7 separate regions of the Homo sapiens genome follow, and regions 2, 3, 4, 5, 6 and 7 are each linked to region 1. The links are contacts of gene promoters, found by promoter capture Hi-C in blood cells and fetal thymus (Javierre and others, 2016). All regions are on one chromosome and are shown on one strand. The core of a region is centred on a gene start or on the middle of the fragment in contact, and the rest is flanking DNA. Distances in the headings are between cores, read along the strand shown. Region 1 holds the start of ZNF225 (zinc finger protein 225). Region 2 overlaps ZNF585A (zinc finger protein 585A). Region 3 overlaps ZNF875 (zinc finger protein 875). Region 4 overlaps ZNF527 (zinc finger protein 527). Region 5 overlaps ZNF569 (zinc finger protein 569). Region 6 overlaps ZNF570 (zinc finger protein 570). Region 7 has its middle 29 kb from the start of ZFP30.

Region 1 (2,996 bases), core at 241-2,740:
AACAAAGTTGAGATCACCAATGAAGTGACAAACTGACATATGGCCCCTGTTATGTTGCAATAAGAAATTTACCACTTCAGGCTGGGCACGGTGGCTCATGCCTGTAATCCCACACTTTGGGAGGCCAAGGCGGTTGAATCACCTGAGGTCAGGAGTCTGAGACCAGCCTGGCCAACATGGTGAAATCCCTTCTCTACTAAAAATACAAAAATTAGCCGGATGTGGTGGCAGGCACCTGTAATCCCAGCTACTTGGGAGGCTGAGGCAGGAGAATAGCTTGAACCCAGGAGGTGGATGTTGCAATGAGCTGAGATCGTGCCATGCACTACAGCCTGGGCGACAAGAGCGAAACTCCGTCTCAAGAAAAAAAAAGAGAGAGAGAGATTTACCACTTCTGTGGTATTCCAGCAAAAAATGCATATTTTGAAGTTAAACGTGAAATACATCAGAAAAACTCCAAATGAACATCTTTGACCAAAATAACTTCATCTATACTCTTCAAAAATAACAAGGATAAAATACCAAGAAAAAACGATGAAAGCTATGCTATCTTTCAAGATTAAAGACTAGAAAAACATGACAACTGAAAGCAACACCCATGCCCGAAGACACATCCTATACACTCTCGGTTGGGGTGAGCATCTCTGTCAAAGAAAAAAGCCAAGGATCACTCACGTAGAGCTTTGCCCTCAGAAGCCAAGAAGTCCCTCCCTGCAGCTCTTTTGGAAAGGTCGGGCTGGGTAAGGAGAAGGCTGTGAAACACTCTGACCGTGGTCGCCGTGCCCCATAAAAGTTAAATGCTCCTCTCCCCTCCTGGAAGTGGATGCAACCCTCGCCTTCCTAAAAGAGAGGTCAGAAGGCGTCCGGGATCACCCAGCGTCTTGCAGGAATCAGGGAGAAGGGCCGGTGCCCCTGCAGCTGGAGTTTCACCCCACCCGGGGACCTGACAGGCTTCGTGGGAAATTAACAAGAGACCACCAGTCACCAAGTGACAGGGGCTGCTTTAAGGCTCTCATTTGTGTTACCGCTTTCAGTTCCCAAAACGATTCTATTAGGATGGTCCTAAACTCCCCATCTTAAAGAACTGTAACGGGAGACCCAAGGAGATTAAGTAACATCCCAGCGTTTTATCGCGAGGAAGTGGCCACGCGCGTGGGGTGCAGGGAGGCCGAGTGGGCGAGCTCAGAGCCCCGGAGACCCTAAAACCAGGCGAGACGCGACCCGACCAAGTCCCAAACACCCCGGGGACGCGAGGAGAGCCCCAAGCCCAAGAAGGCTCCACTGACGAGAACGAAAACAGCGGCCCCGCTCCGCCAAACCTCTGCTCTCCGACGAGGTTTCTTTTCCCCTAATTCGATCACCAGTTCGTTAAGGATCCAATGCGTAGGTCCAGGAAATTCAGAAGGGTCTCGCGGAACTGACCCAAACTACCAGGGACAAAACTGCAGCAACCTCACAGTAACGGAGCGGAAGTGGCCCGCTACTCCACTGAGTGTCTGGACTCCACTTCCCAGAATTCCTGAGACAAACTGACCGCGACGACCCCGAGCGTCTGGACTACACTTCCCAGAATTCCCTGGGATCCACCTGCCGGAGTCAAATTGACCGAGACTCCACTGAGCGTCTGGACTACATTTCCCAGAAATCCCCTGATTCGCCTGCCGGAGCCAAGCTGACCGCTACTCCACTGAGCGTCTGGACTACCATTCCCAGAATTGCTTGTATCCTCCTTCTGGAGCCAGTGTGTACGACTCCACAGAGCATTTGGATTACACTCCTCCGAATGCTGAAGGAAAAACGCTCAAAATCTCATTCTTCAGGGGGAAGCGTTGCCACTCCGAGGTGCCCACTGGGAACGAATCCCAAAGCCACGAGCGCCTGCCTAGTGGGGAATGTGAACTGTTATCCTGAGAGTCGTCCTTCTCTCTCCCTGGTCCAGGACAGAAAATACTGAATAGACAGGAATTTCTGAAGTCTAAACGCCTCCAATGATAACAGGAGTGTTATTGGAAAGGGAACAAGCGAGAAGACACAGTCTTCGAGGAGTTAAGTTTTGCTAATCTAATGGTAAGAAATGGTTTCTAAATGTAGTTTTAATTTGTATTTGTTCTTTTGTAAATAAAGTGGAACATCCGTGCATATTTTCCGTTGCCACTATTATAGTCTTTGTGAATTGGTCAAATAGTTTGCCCACATTTCTATTGAGTGTTTAGTTTTTTCCCCTCCGTTAAGTATTATTTACATACTCATATTAACATTGTATCAAATATTGCTCAACCAAAAAGCTTTTTTCCTTTGACTTGTTTTTCGCTATGCAAAACGTTTTTAACGTGGTCGTTTTATTATTTAAAAAATATTTTTGAGGTGTAATTCACAAAACAAAATTATTTTAAGGCACATAATTCAATGGCAATGGCATCTAGTACGAATACAGTGTTGTTAATATATACGAGTTAAGAAGCCATCACTTAGGCAGATAGGGTATGGGAGCCCTCGGTAAGGCTTTTCTTTTTAATGAAAAGCAGCCCCAAATTATTTCCCTTCCTAAGGAAGAGCAGCCTGTAAAATCCAGCTGCCGCAGACATAGATACCAGCAGTTGTGCCAATCATGTTAAAGATGGCGGCTCCATCTTCCCTTCTCTTTGTCAGCCACGTGCACAGTAAGAAGCTGGCAAGATGGGCCAATCAACTGGGAAGCCTATTTGCATAAGAAGATTAGGGTGGGGCGACCAGCCTTCCCCACGCACTATGTAAACGTCATAACTGATCGAACCAATCTATGACCCCTATGTAAATCAGACACTGCCTCCTCAAACTGGTCTGTAAAACTCAGCACATTCACTGCCAGCCGACCCTTTTCCGCTCGGAGACCCCTTCCTCTATGGAGGAACCCGTTTCTCTTTCTCTTCTTCCTATTAAACCTCCGCTCCTAAACTGAGGAGTTTTTGTGTGTCCGTGTCCTAAATTTTTCTGGCGCTTAACGACGAACCCCGGGT
Region 2 (2,996 bases), core at 192-2,691, 6.9 Mb after region 1:
GGTGGCCAGCCAGTTATATCACTGCATTATATCACTGCCATTTATGCAATGAATGTCTTATGCACACTCATTTGAATACCACTTTTATCACATATATAGATCAATATTGTCTGGTATATTTATTGTTTTACTTGTTTTTATTACATTGTTTTTATATTGTTTTAATATCTGATAATGCATGGTAATCGCTGATATGTATTGTATGATTTTTGTGTGCCTGGGAGGTGTTGAGTACTTTACAAGTATTATCTCATTTAATTTTTGTAACTTTGAGATAAGCATTTTCATCCTCATTTCTGAAATTAAAAGTGAAGAAATGGCTGGGCGCAGTGGCTCACGCCTGTAATCCCAGCACTTTGGGAGGCAGAGGCGAGCGGATCAGGAGGTCAGGAGATCCAGACCATCCTGGCCAACATGGTGAAACCTCGTCTTTACCAAAAATTAGCTGGACATGGTGGCGCATGCCTGTAATCCCAGCTACTTGGGAGGCTGAGGCAGGAGAATTGCTTGAACCTGGGAGGCAGAGCTTGCAGTGAGCCGAGATCGCACCACTGCACTCCAGCCTGGCGACAGAGCGAGACTCCGTCTCAAAAGAAAGTGAAGAAACTTCTGTTCTCATAGGTGAAAAGTGTCAGAGCTGCAGTTCAAATCTGCAGTAACATTACTCCATCTCTCATGACTTTTCCCATATTTCACCGTAACTAATACCTATCACAGATTTTGTTAAATTTTATGTTCTCCTCAGCGCTGGTTCTCAAAGTGTGGTCCCTGTACTGACAGCATCAGCGTTTCCTGGGCACCAGTTAGAAACGAAACTTTTTGGGTTCTACTTTAGACCTACTGAATCAGAAACTGTGGAGTAGGCTGAGAATTTTTAACTGTGTTTCATTTAACAGGTCCTCCAGGTAACTTGAATGCATACCCATTTGAGAACCACTGCTTTGGTTTCTAGCTCAGGGACCTGCACCTTGATATATCCAGGAAGTGCTTATGTGTTGAATGTGAAATGACTGACTATGGGAACATTGTCTTTCCAGGTTTCTGGGTGTCTCTGGGGAGCCCCTGGGCCAGATTTTCCTCTAGACTCCAGCCCATCTCTTCAGAGCAGCTCTGCTTGAGTTCACAGATGACTGCCAAGCTTCAGACACCCTACAGAAAAAGGGTTGAGACCCAGTGTGGCCATGCCAGCTAATTGGACCTCACCTCAGAAATCCTCAGCCCTGGCTCCAGAGGATCATGGCAGCTCCTATGAGGTGAGAAGGAGGAGTCCCAGGGGGGTGGGAATTCAATCCAGGACTAGGTATCTCTGGTCTGTCACTAGAACCTCATGACTGAGGGAGGGAGCTGGGCCACAGGAAGCAGCTGGACTCTAGACCTGCTGCTCCTGAAACAAATCTTGATCTTCCTGTTGAGAATGAGCAACATGTGGGTAATGTCTTCGTCTCTGGAGGCCATCTGTGCGACAGTGGAGAGGTGGACTATTAAGAAAAACTGTTGTTTATTTTGTCATCACACTACATTGATCTTTGGGCTGTGGATAGATTTTCCTGGTTAGAAGTCACTTTTCTGTGGGATTTTCAAAGTATTTCTCTTGTTTCTTCCTAAACTGCCTCCTCAAACACAAATATTTTCTTTCTTTCTTTTTTTTTTTTTTTTACATTTCTGTTTTTCGGATATTGGTTCTCCATTTTTTTCCCTCTACTGTTTTCTATTTCTTTGCTGCTCTCTTTTTCAGGAAGCTTTGTCACATTTGCCTTCCAGCCCTTCTTTTGAGTTTCTCGTTACCACTATCAACATTTTAATTCAACGTTTTAATTTTTAATAACTGTAATTTATTTTCTAAATATTCTTTTTGATTAGCATCTTGTTCTTATTTCATGGGTATAATTTTATTTCTTATGCCTCTGGAGATATTGTGATAGTGTATTAGGAAAGTTTAGTTTTCTGAATAGGGAATATATACACTTCGTTCAAAAATAATATTGGTAAAATGGGAATAATAGTAAAAAATAAAAATTAAAAACAATTAGAAATGCATTTAAAGGCAACACACCCTGAAAAGTGTTATAGGAAACAAATTCAGGGGAAACATGGATCTGTGATTCACCCACCTCCGTTCCCCACCTACCCCCATGTTTCTCAACATACAGGACCGATTTTATTCTTTTTCTTTGATTGCTTAGTTCTATAAACAAGTAAAAACAAGTACACATTTTTTTCTTTCTATTTCACAAAAGGTGCCATAGTAGACTAAATTTTCACACATTGCTTTTTAAATATTTGTTTGGTAAAATACAGCTCATATTATGAACTATGTAGCAGTAGGCATTCTTCTCATGTCTTTCCTTTCTGTTGCATGTGTAAGTTGTAGTAGAATTTCATTTCTGGTTTTAGTCACAGGTAATAAGAATCTTCTAGCTGAATTTCACTGAACCTCTACTTCTGTTCCTATTGGGAAATTTTATGATTGGGTATCTTAATCATTTTTACCTAGAAAATATGAAGGGTAGATTGAAGCAAAAGCTATAATTGGTAAAGGTATAATTGGCAGTCACTTTCCTTATGCAGAGTAAGGAGATTTTTATGGTTTGAAGAAGATTGTGATTTTTGTCTGTGCTCAAGTATAATGACAGAGTGGTCTTGGTTTTGTCTTCCACCATGGTGGTCAGAGATTGGTCTTGTTTGCTGTTGGTGTTCCAAGAGATTATTTTTGTGTAGCGCCATGGAGAACACCATGAGTTAGCTGGCCCCTGCCAGGCTAGCTTCTAGCAAAACTGAGGTTTAACTGATAGTACCAGGCTAACTCTCAGCGGTCAGGGGCTGCTTTTATCCTCATTTAAAAATAAAGGAATGAACCAAAAGAAAGCTAGGGATGCAATTTAGGAACAGGTCAAAAGGAATTTAAGGTGAAAATCACTTAAAGGGATGAAGAGGATGGTTCATACTTATAAAAGGAAGAATATACAAATAATTATAAAAGTTATCAACATTTGTTT
Region 3 (2,996 bases), core at 291-2,790, 6.7 Mb after region 1:
TTAGTAGAGATGGGGTTTCACCATATTGGCCAGGCTGGCCTCAAACTCCTGACCTTGTGATCTGCCTGCCTTGGCCTCCCAAAGTGCTGGGATTACAGGTGTGAGACACTGTACCCGGCCTCAAAGTATTTTTCTGTTAAGAAGTATGAAAGCCAGCCCATGAATTGCCATGGGGGAGGGCTGGGAAAAGCCAGCCATGCCAAGTACTCCACCTAGGATAATACTTCATAATTTTTTACCAGATCTTCTAACTCTACTCACTCACTTAGATGTTGAACAAAAATTAAGATCCTAACATCTCTTACCATTTTGGACAGTGATGCCCTAACTGTAACTCCTTTGGATAAACAAATAAATCTACATTTATTTTTTCCCTAAATTGATAGCCAACAACACAAACACTGAATCTTACGATTGCCATTTTCACGCTGATTTGAAATCCTGCTTTATCGCATTCAAAATGCTCATATATGGATGGGTTTGTTTTTCTGTTTTTTAAAATATGGTTCTAAAGAGCTATTCTAAAAACTTATATATGAACAAGACATGTTACTATATAGTTTCTATATTTTCCTAATGATTCTTGGAAATTTTATTTTCCAAATAAAATTCAGAATCATTCAGTCTAGTTCCATGAAAAAAAACAAAAAACAAACAAACTGGGACCTAACCTAGTATTTAAAGTTAATTTGTTGAACACTGCCATTAAAAAATATATGTTCCCAACCAGAAGAATGGTACATTTTACAATGGTTGGAAATATTTAAACTCAAGAATTACCTGTAGGATGTTGTTTGGTAATTCAAAGGAGAATAGAAATTAATTTCATTTTCTATTTCTGCATATTGTGTGTTTTATAAATAAAACAACAATACACTTCTAGTCTAAATACATCAGTCAATAAAAATATCTTCAATGTGGATTCAACCCAGAAACCAGACAAAACCCCAAAAGGCTTAAGCAAAGTTATTTTTAAAAATGGACCTCTTCCTAAAACCTAGAGCTAGGATACTTGCAGTCACCTAGATATAATAAAACCCTCTTCTACCCATGGACTATCCCTGTCTCCATGAATTAACCATTCCCCAAACTCTCCCCTGAGGCTGACTCTGTGGGGTCATGGTCTGGGGAACACATAGTAAATCAGCCACGGTGTCTTCCAAGTCTCTTGTTCCCAGTTAGGACAGATGGACATCAAAAGACAAGCTCTAGTATTGTTGTCTTGAGGCAGAAATTAGAGAAAGAAGAAAATAAAATTTAAAAAGAGAAAAATAAGCTTTCCATACTAGGCTGACTCATCCTAAAGGCGGTAGCAGGCAAAGCCTGGACCCAGGCGAGGTCTCGATAACATTATCAAAGAAGCAAAGGCTTGAAGGAATGTGCTCTGGAGACTCTCCCAGCACTCCCTCAACATAAGGATAAGAAAAAGTAAAGATCCCCCTCGAATCCCACCTCCCTCCGTGTGATTGTACCTTGCTCTGCAAGTTTTATGAGGTTATAGATTCCTGTTTTCTGTAACTAGTTAACTTCAAGTATTCTGTTTTATCTAAGCAGCACAGTGAAAGTTTTAAGACATGCCTGAGGCAGGCCTGGGCTGCAGCCATCTGGGCACCATAGCAAAGGTTATGAGATAAGCCCATGCAAGGCTCTTTTGAGCAAGCCTAGATAACAGCCATCTGGGCTGCATAAGCAAGGGTCATATGTAATCCTGAGTTATACACCTGTCACAATTTGATTAACTGCCTTTGCTCTGCCTCTGTATCCTGGCTTTTGCACCACTACGTTTTGCACCACTGTAAGCTTGTTTCAAGTTAGCCCACCCACTTTGAGAAGTGTGTATAAAAGTCAAATGCTGTCTTTGTTCTGGGCCCAGTTTTTGGATGTTAATCCTCTGGGTCTGAGTGCACTCAATAAATCCTCCTGTCGGCTGGGCGCGGTGGCTCATGCCTGTAATCCCAGCACTTTGGGAGGCTGAGGCGGGCGGATCATGAGGTCAGGAGATCGAGACCATCCTGGCTAACACAGTGAAACCCCATCTCTACTAAAAATACAAAAAATTAGCCGGGTGAGGTGGCAGGCACTTGTAGTCCCAGCTCCTCGGGAGGCTGAGGCAGAAGAATGGCGTGAACCTGGGGGGCGGAGCCTGCAGTGAGCCGAGATCGCGCCACTGCACTCCAGCCTGGGTGACAGAGCGAGACTCTGTCTCAAAAAAATAAATAAATAAATCCTCCTGTCTCACCCCATGGTCTCTCTGGTCCTCCTTCATTCCCGCAATAGTTTCTGTAACATCCAGGGTACAGTGGAAGGAATGTTCCAGTGTACCTGTAAAATGACACTGGAATAGTATTCATTTCCTAATTTCAACCCATTTAAAAGTACTTTCTCCGTCAAGTTACTGACACAGGAATTTTCTCAGCCACATTGCCAACTGAGGACCTCCACAGCCAGCGACAGCCCTCTGCCTGGATCTCACTTAGCCCTGGGCCTGCTGCTGGAGGTGCCCTGCCCTCTTGGCCTGCCTGTATTATAGCTTATACCCATGTTTAGTGGTTCTGAGCGCTTGTCCTGAGTCCAAAAAGAATGAGGATACACTGACAATTGAAGGGTGAGGATGGGTAGAAAAGAATTTTATTGAGCAAAAGAACAGCTCTCAGTGGAGAGGGGATGCAGGGAGTGGTCCCCAACCCCCACAGCAGGGTGATTTCTCTCCTCACTGCAGCTGAGTCTGGGTCTTTTATGGGCTCAGAATAGGGGAATACACGTTGACTGATTTGTAAGTATGCAAAGGCACCACTCAAAAGGTGGGCACAGCAGTGTAAAAACCAATTAGGAAAGGGCAGGTATACGTAAAATAGGTGAAGGGTTGGGATCAATCGGAGGAAAGCACACCAAATGGGAAGACAGGTTCTCAATTCAGTATGAGGATTTAGCCGGGACTGTCTTCAGCTTTAAGGTTGGGTTTCACCAGGTACCCACCCCTATCTGCCTGGGCATTT
Region 4 (2,996 bases), core at 212-2,711, 6.7 Mb after region 1:
AAGTGGAAAATAGGCTGGGCACGGTGGCTCATGCCTGTACTCCCAGCACTTTGGGAGGCCGAAGCAGGTGGATCACAAGGTCAGGAGTTCGAGACCAGCCTGGCCAATATGGTGAAACCCGGTCTCTACTAAAAATACAACAATTAACTGGGTGTGGTGGTACGCACCTGTAGTCCCAGCTACTTGGGAGGCTGATACAGGAGAATCGCTTGAACCCAGGAGGTGGAGATTGCAGTGAGCCAAGATTGCGCCACTGCACTCCAGCCTGGACAACAAGAGAAAAACTCTGTCTCAAAAAAAAAAAAAAAATCAGCTGGGTGTGGTAGCTCACACCTGTATAATCCCAGCACATTGGGAGGCCAAGAAGGGTGGATCACCTGAGGTCAGGAGTTTGAGATCAACCTGGCCAACATGGCGAAACCCTGTCTCTACTAAAATTACAAAAATTATCTGGGCATGATGGTGAGCACCTGTAATCCCAGCTACTCGGGAGGCTGAGGCAGGAAAATCCCTTGTACCTGGAAGGCAGAGGTTGCAGTGAGCCAAGATCGTGCCATTGCACTCCAGCCTGGGTGACAGAGCAAGGCTCCATCTCAAAAAAAAAGCATAAAAAATCAAGGAAACGCATTCTCCCATACAGTTTTAGGAAGGAATATAGGCTGCTGACATCTTGATTTTAGCTCTGTAAGGCCTACTTTTTACTTCTGACCTCCAGAGCTACAATAAATTTGTGTTGGATTAAGCCACTAAATGTGTGCTAATTTGTTACAGCAGGAAAAAAACTAAGCAGACAACTTTTCTGGAGGGGAATGTAGCAATTCCTTATAAAACTACGTATATACGGCCGGGCATGGTGGCTCATAACTGTAATCCCAGCACTTTGGGAGGCCAAGGCTGGCACGGATCACGAGGTCAAGAGATTGAGACCATCCTGGCCAACATGGTGAAACCCTGTCTCTACTAAAAATACAAAAATTAGCCAGGCGTGGTGGCATGCGCCTGTAGTCACAGCTACCCGGGAGGCTGAGGCAGGAGAATCACTTGAACCCGGGAGGCGGAGCTTGCAGTGAGCCGAGATTGCCCACTGCACTCCAGCCTGGTGACAGAGCGAGACTCCATCTCAAACAAAAACAGTAACAAATGGACCTGAAATAACCAACCTAAGTAATTTTGGAAATAGTATTTTGACTGGACACTATAAGACTAAAACAAAAAGTACTATATACAAATACCTAAATCTAGTTGGTAAATTTGTTTCTCACAGAGAAGTAAGTTAGAAATTCTGAAACTACTTTATGTGTATACTAAAATTGAACAAATAGGTAAATATATTTTTTCTCATTATCAGAAAAAGAAATTACAAATAAGTCAAGGAGGAAGGCTACAATAAACCCTGTAAAGCAGGACTAGAAATCAAGTTATTAATATAAACTGATAGTTTTAGTATATAAAAAGATAGAGGTAATAAAAAATGGGAAAAAAAGAGGCAGAAATAAATATAGGGGTGTGTGTGTAAATATCTATCTATCTATCTATCTATCTATCTATCTATCTATCTATCTACCTATCTATCTATCTGTTTCCTAGCTTTAGCTGCTGTCAGGGCCAGAAAGAGTGATATCCCAGTAGCCTAGAGCATACCTAGCTTGGTTTCTAAACACCATTTCCCAATAAAGCAATGAGGGCTCCTTGGAGAAGTGGTTGATTCAAGGCTGGGGCAAGGAAAATAAGAGAACCTGGAATACCTTGTGCCAGAAGGAAGGACGTGCCCAAAAAATGCATGGGGGCATGTCAGAAGGTCAAAGGAACCAATGTGAAGGAGATTCCAACATTCAAAGCTGGAACGATTTGAGAAACATAATGATTCATTGGATTTACTTCATAGAAATAAAAATCCATAAATCCAAAAATAAATCCATTTAAATTTTATGAAGTCATTAAATTTTATGAGGTAAATTAGATTTACCTCATAGGAAAAAAATCCATAAATATAATTGAATATATAAGTAAATGGAGGAGAAAGAGCAGCTCTTCCTTCAGAACAATCCCAATTAATATACACAAAGAAAAGAGGGAAATGGAACAAATCAACATTAGGTTAATACCACAGTAATAATAGTTGAAGAGATCCAGCAATAAATGCTAAAATAAATGGGCAAAAATTACAGAAGAAACTGAATAATCTCAAAGTATCTCCCCCAAGATATTTATTAACTACAAATAGAAAAATAAGAACTTTATAATGGAGAAACCAAGCAGACACTACCTTCACTAAGTGTGCAAAGTTAACATCACCGATAATAAGACATATCGATATTATACATCCTTTGGAATGATGCACTGAGAGAGATACAACATTATTTCTGTGACATTCTTTGCAAAAATGCACTACCTCAATCTAATTATGAGAAAATATCAGATAAATCAGATAGATCCAAATTGAGTGCATGCAAATATAATGAGCCATTTGTGTAGAGTGAAGCGTATCTGAGGATTCCAGGAGAGATTTCTCCAAGAAGATGAAGTGGATAGATCACCTAATATGTCCAAGTATCTTGAAAGACTCAGACAATTGATGGTAAGTCGGGAACTGGATTAGGGTTATGTATATATAAACTGAGCAAAAACAAACAAACAAACAAACAAAATTCCCAAGTCATTATTAACTCCAGGAAAAATAAAAAGGAGTAGAGAAAAAGTAACTTGCCATATGCACAGCACAGCTATGACTAGCACTAAATGGCCATAATAAAATAAATGCTGAATAGTGACTTAATCAAAATGATGACATTGATAAGATAGGGGATGGGAAATGTGTGTATTTGTGTGTGTGCCTTATGTGTTGGATTCAGGAGAAGAAAGTGCTAACTCCTTATTTTCTTATAAGAAGATACCGAATAAGGGCTCACCCTGAAAAAAAATCAAGAGTAGCAACATTAACATATTTTTGGAGACATGAAGGGAACACCAAAATAAACTACAAAAGAAAAGAAAGT
Region 5 (2,996 bases), core at 325-2,824, 6.7 Mb after region 1:
GAAGAGTCTTAAGTTGGCAAAATAATTGATTGTTGTTTTGACTGTGGATTTTAGGCTAGGTAAGTGGAAAAGTGAGGATAGGAAGAGAGTGAAGGACAGTAAAAAATTAGTAGAATCAAGGAATGGAAGCTCCTGACAGGGCTGAAGGACTATTGGGTTGTAATATTAGAGGAAGTAAGGTGAGACATAGAAGGATGGGCTGGGCATGGTGGCTCATGCCTGTAATCCCAGCACTTTGGGAGGCCATAGTGGGCACATTGCGAGATCAAGAGATCAAGACCATCCTGACCAACATGGTGAAACCCTGTCTCTACTAAAAATACAAAAATTCGCTGGGCATGATGGCGCACACCTGTAGTCCCAGCTACTCTGGAGCCTGAGGCAGGAGAATCGCTTGAACCCAGGAGGCGGAAGTTGCAGTGAGCCAAGATCACGCCATTGTACTCCAGCCTGACAGAGTGAGACTCTGTCAAAAAAAAAAAAAAAAAGAGGATATTTTTCATATGTTTTAAAAATAGAACAGTTCTTCTTACCACTATACCGGTTTTAGAAAACATGGATGATTACTAACTAGACCCATTATTTCAGTAAGGGCTACAAAATGGCGATATTCTAATTCTGTCATTACTTCGTTTACTAGCTAGAATATTTTCCTAAAGAAAAAATTTTCCTCGTCAACTCTTTGTTCACCCTTAGGTACAGTTTGTACAGAAAAGGCAGAATAAATGGATTATTTCCCTTTATATGATTTTGAGTTATTGGAGTGGTTCCCTGGCATCTCCTAGTGGGTTGTTTTTATTATTATCACCATTATATATTCATCATTTTTAGCATATTTGATGTGTTTTAAATCACTGCACTTATTTTCTTTTTGAAGCTCAAATTTTTTTGTTAAGTGTTTGCTTGGGTGCAACCTTTGACTATCTCCCAGAATTTCTGAAAATCTGGTTCAGACAGGTTTTGCCTTTTGTTTGTTTTTTTCATTTCTAGGGAAGGATAGGCCACCAGTCTCATCCCTTGACTTTTTTTTTTTTTTGAGACAGGGTATCACTGTATTGCCCAGGCTAGAGTGCAGTGACTATTCACAGATGCAGTCATGGCACACTGCAGCTTTGAACTCCTATGTTCAAGCAAACTTCTGCCTCAGCCCCTGCAAATAGCTTGGACTACAGGTGCACGCTACCACGCCTAGCTTCATCTCTTTACTTGTAACTTGAATGTTAAAGTGGGTTTCTTATAGACATATATAGTTGTTTTTTTTTTTTTAAATGCACTCTGACAATCTGTCTTCTAATTGCTGTGTTTGGACCATTTACACTTGGTGTGATTATTTTTGTAGTTGGATTAACATCTACCATTGGCCAGGCGTGGTGGCTCATGCGTGTAATCCCAGCACTTTGGGAGGCCAAGGCAGGCGAATCACCTGAGGTCAGGAGTTTAGGACCAACCTGGCCAACATGGTGAAACCCTGTCTCTACTAAAAATACAAAAATTAGCCAGGCATAGTGGTGCATGCCTGTAATCCCAGTTGAGGCTGAGGCAGGAGAATTGCTTGAACCCAGGAGACAGAGATTGCAGTCAGCCAAGATCGTTCCACTGCACTCCAGCCTGGGCTGGAGTCTCCAGTGAAACTCTGTCTCAAAAACAAACAAACAAACAAAAAAACACTACCATCTTCCTAGCTCACTACCATCTTCCTAGCTGTTTTCCATTTGCTTCGTATGCAAATAGAAAATTTTTTTATTTCTTTGTTTTGTTTCTTCTCTTCTCCCCTCCTTTGTCTGATTACTACGGTTTTCATTGAGCATTTTATATTATTTCATTTTATCTCCTGTTTACTTTATCATTTATACTTCTTTTAAAAAATTTTAGTGTCACCCTAGAGTTTTCAATGTGTATTTTTAAGTAATCTAAATTCACTTTTGAAAATGCTATACTGCTTCATATGTAGTGCAGGAACTTTACAACAGTATTCCCAGTTCCCCCTTCTTCTCCGTTGTTATGTCACTTGTGATGTCCCTGTCATTCATTTCACTTATCCGTGTGCTGTAATCACCTAATACATTGTTATCATTATAGCCTTTAACAAACATTTATCTTTTAGATCAATTACTAATAAAAGAACCAAAAGATTTTATCTTACCTTCATGATTTTGTCTCTGGTGCTCTTCCTTTCTTTATGTAAATCCATGTTTCTGACCTATATTGTTTTTCTTCTGCCTAAATAACTTTTTAACATTTCTTACAGGGTAGGTCTGCTGGTGATGAATTCCCTTAGTTTTTGTTAGAAATGAAAGTCTTCATTTCTCCTTCAACTTTGAAGGATAATTTCCCTGGATAGAGAGAATTCTAGGTTGGTGGCTCTTTTTCATTTAATGCTTTAGATATTTCACACCACTTTCTTCTTGTTTATATAGTTTCTGACAAGAAGTCTGCTGTAATTTTTATCAGTGTTGTTTTATAGGTAAGGTGTTACTTTTCTCTGGGTTCCTTGACTATCTTTTCTTTGTTTTTTTTTGTTGTTGTTTTTTCAGTTTCAATATGATATACACGTGTGGTTTTTTTTGGTATTTATCTTGCTTAGTGTTCTTTGCGCTTCCTCAGCCTATGGTTTGGTGTGTGTCACTAATTTGAAACATTCATGGACATTATTACTTACAATATTTCATCTGTGTTCTCTTTTTTCTCCTTTTGGTTTTCTAATTGGGAAAATAGATGTCTGTTTAATAGATACATGTTTTGATATTGTCCCATGGTTTGGATGTTCTCCCATGGTTTGGATGTTCTCTTTTGTTTTTCATTCTTTTTCCTCTGTGCATTTTAGTTTGGGAAGTTTCTTTTGAAGTTTCTATTTTCAGGTTCACTGATTGTTTCCTCTACTGTGTTGAGTTTGTTGATGAGTCCATTGAAGGCATTCTTTGTTTTTATTAATATGTTTTTGATTTCTAGCATTTCTTTTGATTCTTTCTTATAGTTCGCATTTCCCTGCTTACAGT
Region 6 (2,996 bases), core at 308-2,807, 6.6 Mb after region 1:
ACAAGAATGCCTGTTATCACTACTTCGATTCATATTATACTGGAGATACGACAAAGGCAACAGAAAAATAAATTAAGGTATAAGAATTGAAAATGAAGAAACTACCATTATTCACAAATATATCTACTCATACATAAAATCCAAACATATTTAAAAATATTATTAACAGGAGAGATTGGCAAGGTTGCTGGATATAAGGCCAATGCATACGAAGTTAATTTCATTTCTATATATGAGCAACAAACAGAAAATATAGATAACATTTAACACAGCAACAAAACTAATATGTTTAATGTTTACAATTTAATCTAACAGAAGATGTGCAAAGCCTTTTTTGGAGAAAATTATAAAACACTGAAAAAAGTGAAAAAACCTAAATAAATGGAGAGCTATACCATGTTAATGAATTTTTAAAATTTCCAGAATTGATTACAGAATAAATAAAATTTGAATCAAAAGTTAAAATTTGAATCAAAAGTTAACAGCATTTTGTTGTTTTCTGATAGAAATTTACAAGTTGACCCTAAACTTTATATTGATGTCCAAAGGGCAAACAAGAAATTCTAAAGAATTTAAACAAGCTGTAGAGATTTTCCCTAGCAGATAATTATCCTTCTAATAAACTATTTTTATTAAGACAGTGTGGTACTGGTATAAGGAAACAGAGATCAATGAAACTGAATAAAGCTTAAAGTCAAACCCATATATAGACTAAAACCTGGTATATTAAGAGGTAACATTCAGAAAAACAGGCAGAGGGAACACTTATTCAAAAAATATCTGGGACCTTTGGTTTTCCATAAGATACAGAAATTAAATTCTTATTTAAAATAATCCTCAAAAATAAGTTCCAATTGGATTATGGACCTACATATAAAAGGACAATCTTTAAAAGACTATTTTCAGATATCTATATGAACTCAGAACATAGAAAGGTTTCTTAAAGTATCAAAAACATAAGCTACAGGCTGGGTGCAGTGGCTCACGTCTGTAATCCCAGCACTTTGGAAGGCTGAGGCTGGCGGATCACCTGAGATCAGGAGTTGGAGACCAGCGTGGCCAACATGGTGAAACCTCGTCTCTACTAAAAATACAAAAAAATTAGCCAGGCGTGGTGGTGGGTGCCTGTAGTTCCAGTTACTGGGGAGGCTGAGGCAGGAGAATCACTTGAACCCAGGAGGCAGAGGTTGCAGTGAGCCGAGATCATGCCACTGTACTCCAGCCTGGGCAACAGAGCGAGACTCTGTCTCAAAAAAAAAAAAAAAAGTTACAAATACACACACACACACACACACACACACACACACACACACACACACGACAACCTCCCCCACAATGAGCACCTTAGGAAAAATCACACATGCAACCTGTTTTTCCTTTTCTCTCGCACCACAACAATAAACACAGAAGGCTTCTGTGACTGAATGTGGGGGTTTCTCTCCACCAACAAGCAAGCAATGAATTCTGCAGTGGGTGTCCTCTACCTCAGCTCTATTTTGATACTGTCTACCTGGAGATAGCATCAGATCCCTCAGGTTGAGGACTCAGTCCCCAAGGCTGCCTACACTTCTGATGCTCTGTAGAGCTCAAAAATTTATAAGAGGCCAGGCACAGTGGTTCATGCCTGTAATGCCAGCACTTTGGAAGGCTGAGGCAGGCAGATCACGTGAGGTCAGGAGTTTGAGACCAGCCTAACATGGAGAAACCCTGTCTCTACTAAAAATACAAAAATTAGCTGGGCGTGGTGGCATGTGCCTGTAATTCCAGCTCCTGGGAAGGCTGAATCAGGAGAATTGCTTGAACCCGGGAGGCGGAGCTTGCAGTGAGCCGAGACTGCACCACTGCACTCCAGCCTGGGTGACAGAGCGAGACTCTGTCACAAAAAAAAAAAAAAAAAAAAAAGTTTATAAGACTACTACAAGATTTTTTAAAGACTGAGAGGCTTATGAAACTGAGAGGGGATGGGACTTGTTAGAAAGGAGATAGGAAAGTAAGAGAAGGGAAATAATTAAAAATAACAAATGTGGGAGAACATCCTAAATGGCCCCAAATTTTTATGAAAACCTAGAACATTTGAGAAGAATTTGGAAGCCTGAAGAGTGAAGAGGTGATACCTTTGAGTCAAGCTGAGCTGTCACGTGCAAAGATTTTTGCCAATTTCCTCTTCACTAACCTGAGCACAAGCCTTTTGTCAGCTCTCTCTTCACCATCCAGGGTGCTTTTCCTTGTTCCAACAATAATATCACACTTGGTTTGGAAAAGCAAAGTCCTGCAAATACGAAAAAAAAAAGTAGAGTTTTGTCATGCTGTGGATATTCCAGAACTCACATTCAATCCTTAGCTCATCAGGGAAAAGGGAGTTTACAGTAAGCAAAAAGAGAAATGTGTAAAGGACATGTATTAGAAGGATAAGGAAGATGAAGCTTCAGGCACAGGCCAAGAATATGTTCACTGCCAAATCCACAAACACTAAGCCATTTGTTTGGCATAGGCAGCAGACATTCAGCCAAATTTTGCAGATATTATCCAAAAATTCACAATAGTGGTAGCAAAGAGCCCCTTTTGAGCAGAAGCTCAGTTTTGCAAGAAGATATCCTTACCCAGTGATACCAAGATCCTGTAGTTCTCTAGCATCACATTACTGTACAGATGTCTTTGAGAAGAATCCAGACAATCCCATTCCTCTTGGGAGAAGTCTACAGCCACATCTCTGAAGGTCACCAACTCCTGAAATGAAATAAATGGAAGAACCTTATCTCTTACCATATTCACCTCATTTCCTCTGCCCTAGGCACACTGGGCTCTCTCTGATATTACATCCTCAAATATGTAACCATGTTATCATATTTGTACTCAGGGCCTTTGTATATCTCAGATTATTCCAGTATAAAATAGCACTGCTTCCACCCCAATTCCCTATTTCCTAACCCTCCTTTATTTTTCTCCACTGCACTTAATTATTTTATTCATTGCCTGTTCTTCACCCTCCTCAACTA
Region 7 (2,996 bases), core at 305-2,804, 6.4 Mb after region 1:
TGATAGATATTTGCAAATAAGAAAAAGAGCTAGACACTCAAGTAGTATAGAACAGGAGTTTTTAATCTGCAGGTCATTTACTTCATATATTGGCCACAAATCCCTTGAAAATTTTTTTCCTGAAAGAGGTGTAGAATTTATTCTGACTTCAAAGGTATACATCTGTGGCCTAAAAAGATGCCTGGTTTAACCATAGATATGACCTTACAAACAATCTGTGCCTCCCAAATGGAAAGAACTAGAAACATTCTTCTCCATTCATGTGCTAGAATATTTAACACAAAGATGTGAAGTAACTTGCCCAAGCTGGTGCACAGCAGAACTGGAGTGCAAACCAGGCAGTCTGGCTTCACTTGAGCTCTTCTCCGGTGTGCTCTCTGTTTCTTCATTTGGTGACTTTCTAAAAATCCACTTATCAAGAGTCACATCACAGGCATCTATAAGCATAGCTGCATTTTATTTTATTTTATTTATTTTTTTGAGACAGGGTCTTGCTCTGTTACCCAGGCTAGAATGCAGTGGTACAATCACAGCTCACTGCAGCCTCGACCTCCTGTGTTCAAGTGATACTTCTACCTCAGCCTCCCGAGTAGCTAAGACTACAGGTGTGCACCACTGCACATGGCTAATTTTTGTATTTTTTTTGTAGAGACAGGGCCTCACTATGTTGCCCAGGCTGGTCTCGAACTCTTGGGCTCAAACGATCTGCCCCCCTTGGCCTCCCAAAGTTCTGGGATTATAGGCATGAGCCAACGCATCTGGCCTCTGAGCTGCATTTTAAATTATTGTGTTATATGCTCTTCTAAAATTATAGTTGTTTTTTTTTTTTTTGAGACGGAGTCTCACTCTGTCACCAGGCTGGAGTGTAATGGCGCGATCTCACTGCAACCTCCACCTCCCAGGCTGAAGCAATTCTCCTGCCTCAGCCTCCCGAGTAGCTGGGGCTACAGGCGCATGCCACCACACCCAGCTAATTTTTGTATTTGTAGTAGAGACAGGGTTTCACCATGTTGGCCAAGATGGTCTCAATCTCTATTTTTTTTTTCTTTTTTTTGAGATGGAGTCTCGCTCTGTTGCCCAGGCTGGAGTGCAGTGGTGCTATCTCAGCTCATTGCAACCTCCGCCTCCTGGGTTCACGCCATTCTCCTGCCTCAGCCTCCGGAGTGGCTGGGACTACAGGTGCCCGCCACCACACCCGGCTAATTTTTTTTTATTTTTAGTAGAGACGGGGTTTCACCGTGTTAGCCAGGATAGTCTCGATCTCCTGATCTCGTGATCCACCCGCCTCAGCCTCCCAAAATGCTGGGATTACAGGCATGAGCCACCACTCCCAGCCAAATTATAGGTTCTTTTAAAGACCTGCCCCCTTACGTAGTAATTCGTCACGTATATCTTTCCTTTTTACTTAAAATGTTTGGTCATAGCTGTTAATGGTAGTGCAGTCATCTGTCATGTAACTGTTCTGTGATATATTCTTGTGTTCACTAAATTTTGCACTTTTCTAGGTTTCGTTTATTGATAACTTCCCAAGTATAGAATTTTTAGGTAAAATATTAAGCATTTATTAATGCCAGGAATATCAATGATTCTGTGCTAATACTTGGGAGAAATGAAGTGATTAGAAAGCCCTAGTTAAGTTTCTCTCAATCTAGCAAGGGACATATAATCTATACAGAAATAGATTAAAGTGTGACAGGAACTAGCGAAACACAGATGCTTTTCCTTGTGGGCTCATGGGAAGGTGACATTCTGACCACAGTAACCTCTGCTGTTTTATGAGAAAACCATCTTGAATACATAGAAACTCTGGAGATAAAGAGATTTTGTGTCGTAAGCGTTATGCCATGTAATTTTTTTTTTTTTTGAGACTAAGTCTTTCTCTGTCGTCCAGGCTGGAGTACAGTGGTGCAATCTCGGCTCACTGCAACGTCCACTGGCTGGATTCAAGCAATTCCCCTAGCCTCAACCGCCCGAATAGCTGGGATTACAGGCACCCATCACCATGCCTGGCTAATTTTTTTTCTATTTTTAGTAGAGACAGGGTTTCACCATGTTGGCCAGGCTGGTCTTGAACTCCTAACCTCAGGTGATCCGCCCACCTTGGCCTCCCAAAGTGCTGGGATTACAGACGTGAGCCACTCCACCCGGCCTTATGCCATGTAATTTTTAAATAAAGTTTTTTTGTAAATAAAGTTTATTTTTGTAAATAAACTTTTAATGTTAGATATACAGTCAGACGTCACCTAAGAACAGGGATACATTCTTCTGTTGTTAGGTAATGTTGTTGTTAGGTGATGTCATCATTGTGTGAACATCAGAGGGTGGACTTACATACACCTAGATGGGATAGCCTACTACACACCCAGGCTATATAGTATAGCCTGCAGCTCCTAGGCCACCAGCCTGTATAGAATTTTACTGTACTGAATACTGTAGATAGTTGCAACACAATGATTTTATGTATCTAAATATATCTAAATACAGAAAAGGTACAGTAAAAATATGGTATAGGCCAGGCGCAGTGGCTCACGCCTGTAATCCCAACACTTTGGGAGGCCAAGGCAGGTGGATCATGAGGTCAGGAGTTCGAGACCAGCCTGGCCAACGTGGCGAAACCCCGTCTCTACTAAAAATACAAAAATTAGCTGGGTGTGGTGGCAGGTGCCTGTAATCCCAGCTACTCGGGAGGCTGAGGCAGGAGAATCGCTTGAACCTGGGTGGCGGAGGTTGCAGTGAGCCAAGATTGTACCATTGCACTCCAGACTGGGTGACAAGAGCAAGACTCCATCTCAAAAAAAAAAAAAAAAAAAGGTATAAAAAGTAAACAATGGTACACCTGTACAGGGCATTTACCATGAATGGAGCTTGCAGGACTGAAAGTTGCTCTAGGTGAGTCAGTAAGTGAATGGTGAGTGAATGTGAAGGCTAGGACAGTACCATACCCCACTATAGACTAGAAACACTGTATACTTAGGCTACACTAAATATGTGAAAAT

Evidence for each region. The method cuts DNA at HindIII sites, captures the fragments that hold promoters and counts their contacts. A CHiCAGO score of 5 or more calls a contact.
Region 2: a fragment that was not itself captured here is called in contact with the fragment with the promoter of ZNF225 in region 1 in 5 of 17 cell types (naive CD8 T cells, total CD8 T cells, total CD4 T cells and 2 more); the score reaches 9.0 in naive CD8 T cells.
Region 3: a contact is called between a fragment that was not itself captured here and the fragment with the promoter of ZNF225 in region 1, in 3 of 17 cell types (non-activated CD4 T cells, naive CD8 T cells and activated CD4 T cells). The highest score is 5.7, in non-activated CD4 T cells.
Region 4: a contact is called between a fragment that was not itself captured here and the fragment with the promoter of ZNF225 in region 1, in 4 of 17 cell types (non-activated CD4 T cells, total CD4 T cells, activated CD4 T cells and 1 more). The highest score is 11.7, in non-activated CD4 T cells.
Region 5: a contact is called between a fragment that was not itself captured here and the fragment with the promoter of ZNF225 in region 1, in 2 of 17 cell types (naive CD8 T cells and non-activated CD4 T cells). The highest score is 8.9, in naive CD8 T cells.
Region 6: a fragment that was not itself captured here is called in contact with the fragment with the promoter of ZNF225 in region 1 in 7 of 17 cell types (non-activated CD4 T cells, naive CD8 T cells, activated CD4 T cells and 4 more); the score reaches 25.3 in non-activated CD4 T cells.
Region 7: a fragment that was not itself captured here is called in contact with the fragment with the promoter of ZNF225 in region 1 in 1 of 17 cell types (activated CD4 T cells); the score reaches 8.0 in activated CD4 T cells.

The regions. Positions count from the first base shown.
Region 1 is chr19:44,111,893-44,114,888 of GRCh38, reverse strand. ZNF225 (zinc finger protein 225) reads right to left here and starts at 1,490. Exons shown (of 5, transcript NM_013362.4): 1 at 1,320-1,490. ZNF225-AS1 (ZNF225 and ZNF224 antisense RNA 1) reads left to right here and starts at 1,706. Exons shown (of 2, transcript NR_033341.1): 1 at 1,706-2,067. RefSeq lists an enhancer at 1,037-1,736 and a silencer at 1,429-1,779. The HindIII fragment of the contact is 4,811 bases long and covers 1-2,287 here.
Region 2 is chr19:37,168,096-37,171,091 of GRCh38, reverse strand. It overlaps ZNF585A (zinc finger protein 585A), which reads left to right. Exons shown (of 5, transcript NM_001288800.2): 2 at 1,038-1,253. The coding sequence starts at 1,182. Among named protein-coding and RNA genes, the nearest start is that of ZNF585A, 3.1 kb to the left of the region's middle. The HindIII fragment of the contact is 601 bases long and covers 1,141-1,741 here.
Region 3 is chr19:37,364,058-37,367,053 of GRCh38, reverse strand. ZNF875 (zinc finger protein 875) reads right to left here. Exons shown (of 5, transcript NM_001353803.2): 5 at 2,607-2,996. Among named protein-coding and RNA genes, the nearest start is that of ZNF527, 5.5 kb to the left of the region's middle. RefSeq lists a silencer at 1,420-1,620. The HindIII fragment of the contact is 524 bases long and covers 1,279-1,802 here.
Region 4 is chr19:37,380,853-37,383,848 of GRCh38, reverse strand. The region is part of intron 4 of ZNF527 (zinc finger protein 527); the gene reads right to left. Among named protein-coding and RNA genes, the nearest start is that of ZNF527, 11 kb to the right of the region's middle. The HindIII fragment of the contact is 4,583 bases long and covers 1-2,996 here.
Region 5 is chr19:37,458,806-37,461,801 of GRCh38, reverse strand. All of the region lies in intron 2 of ZNF569 (zinc finger protein 569), which reads left to right. Among named protein-coding and RNA genes, the nearest start is that of ZNF569, 7.1 kb to the left of the region's middle. The HindIII fragment of the contact is 7,320 bases long and covers 1-2,996 here.
Region 6 is chr19:37,475,612-37,478,607 of GRCh38, reverse strand. ZNF570 (zinc finger protein 570) reads right to left here. Exons shown (of 5, transcript NM_144694.5): 3 at 2,601-2,727; 4 at 2,174-2,269. Among named protein-coding and RNA genes, the nearest start is that of ZNF570, 7.8 kb to the right of the region's middle. The HindIII fragment of the contact is 1,736 bases long and covers 690-2,425 here.
Region 7 is chr19:37,683,019-37,686,014 of GRCh38, reverse strand. It overlaps the pseudogene ZNF781. Among named protein-coding and RNA genes, the nearest start is that of ZFP30, 29 kb to the right of the region's middle. The HindIII fragment of the contact is 8,365 bases long and covers 1-2,996 here.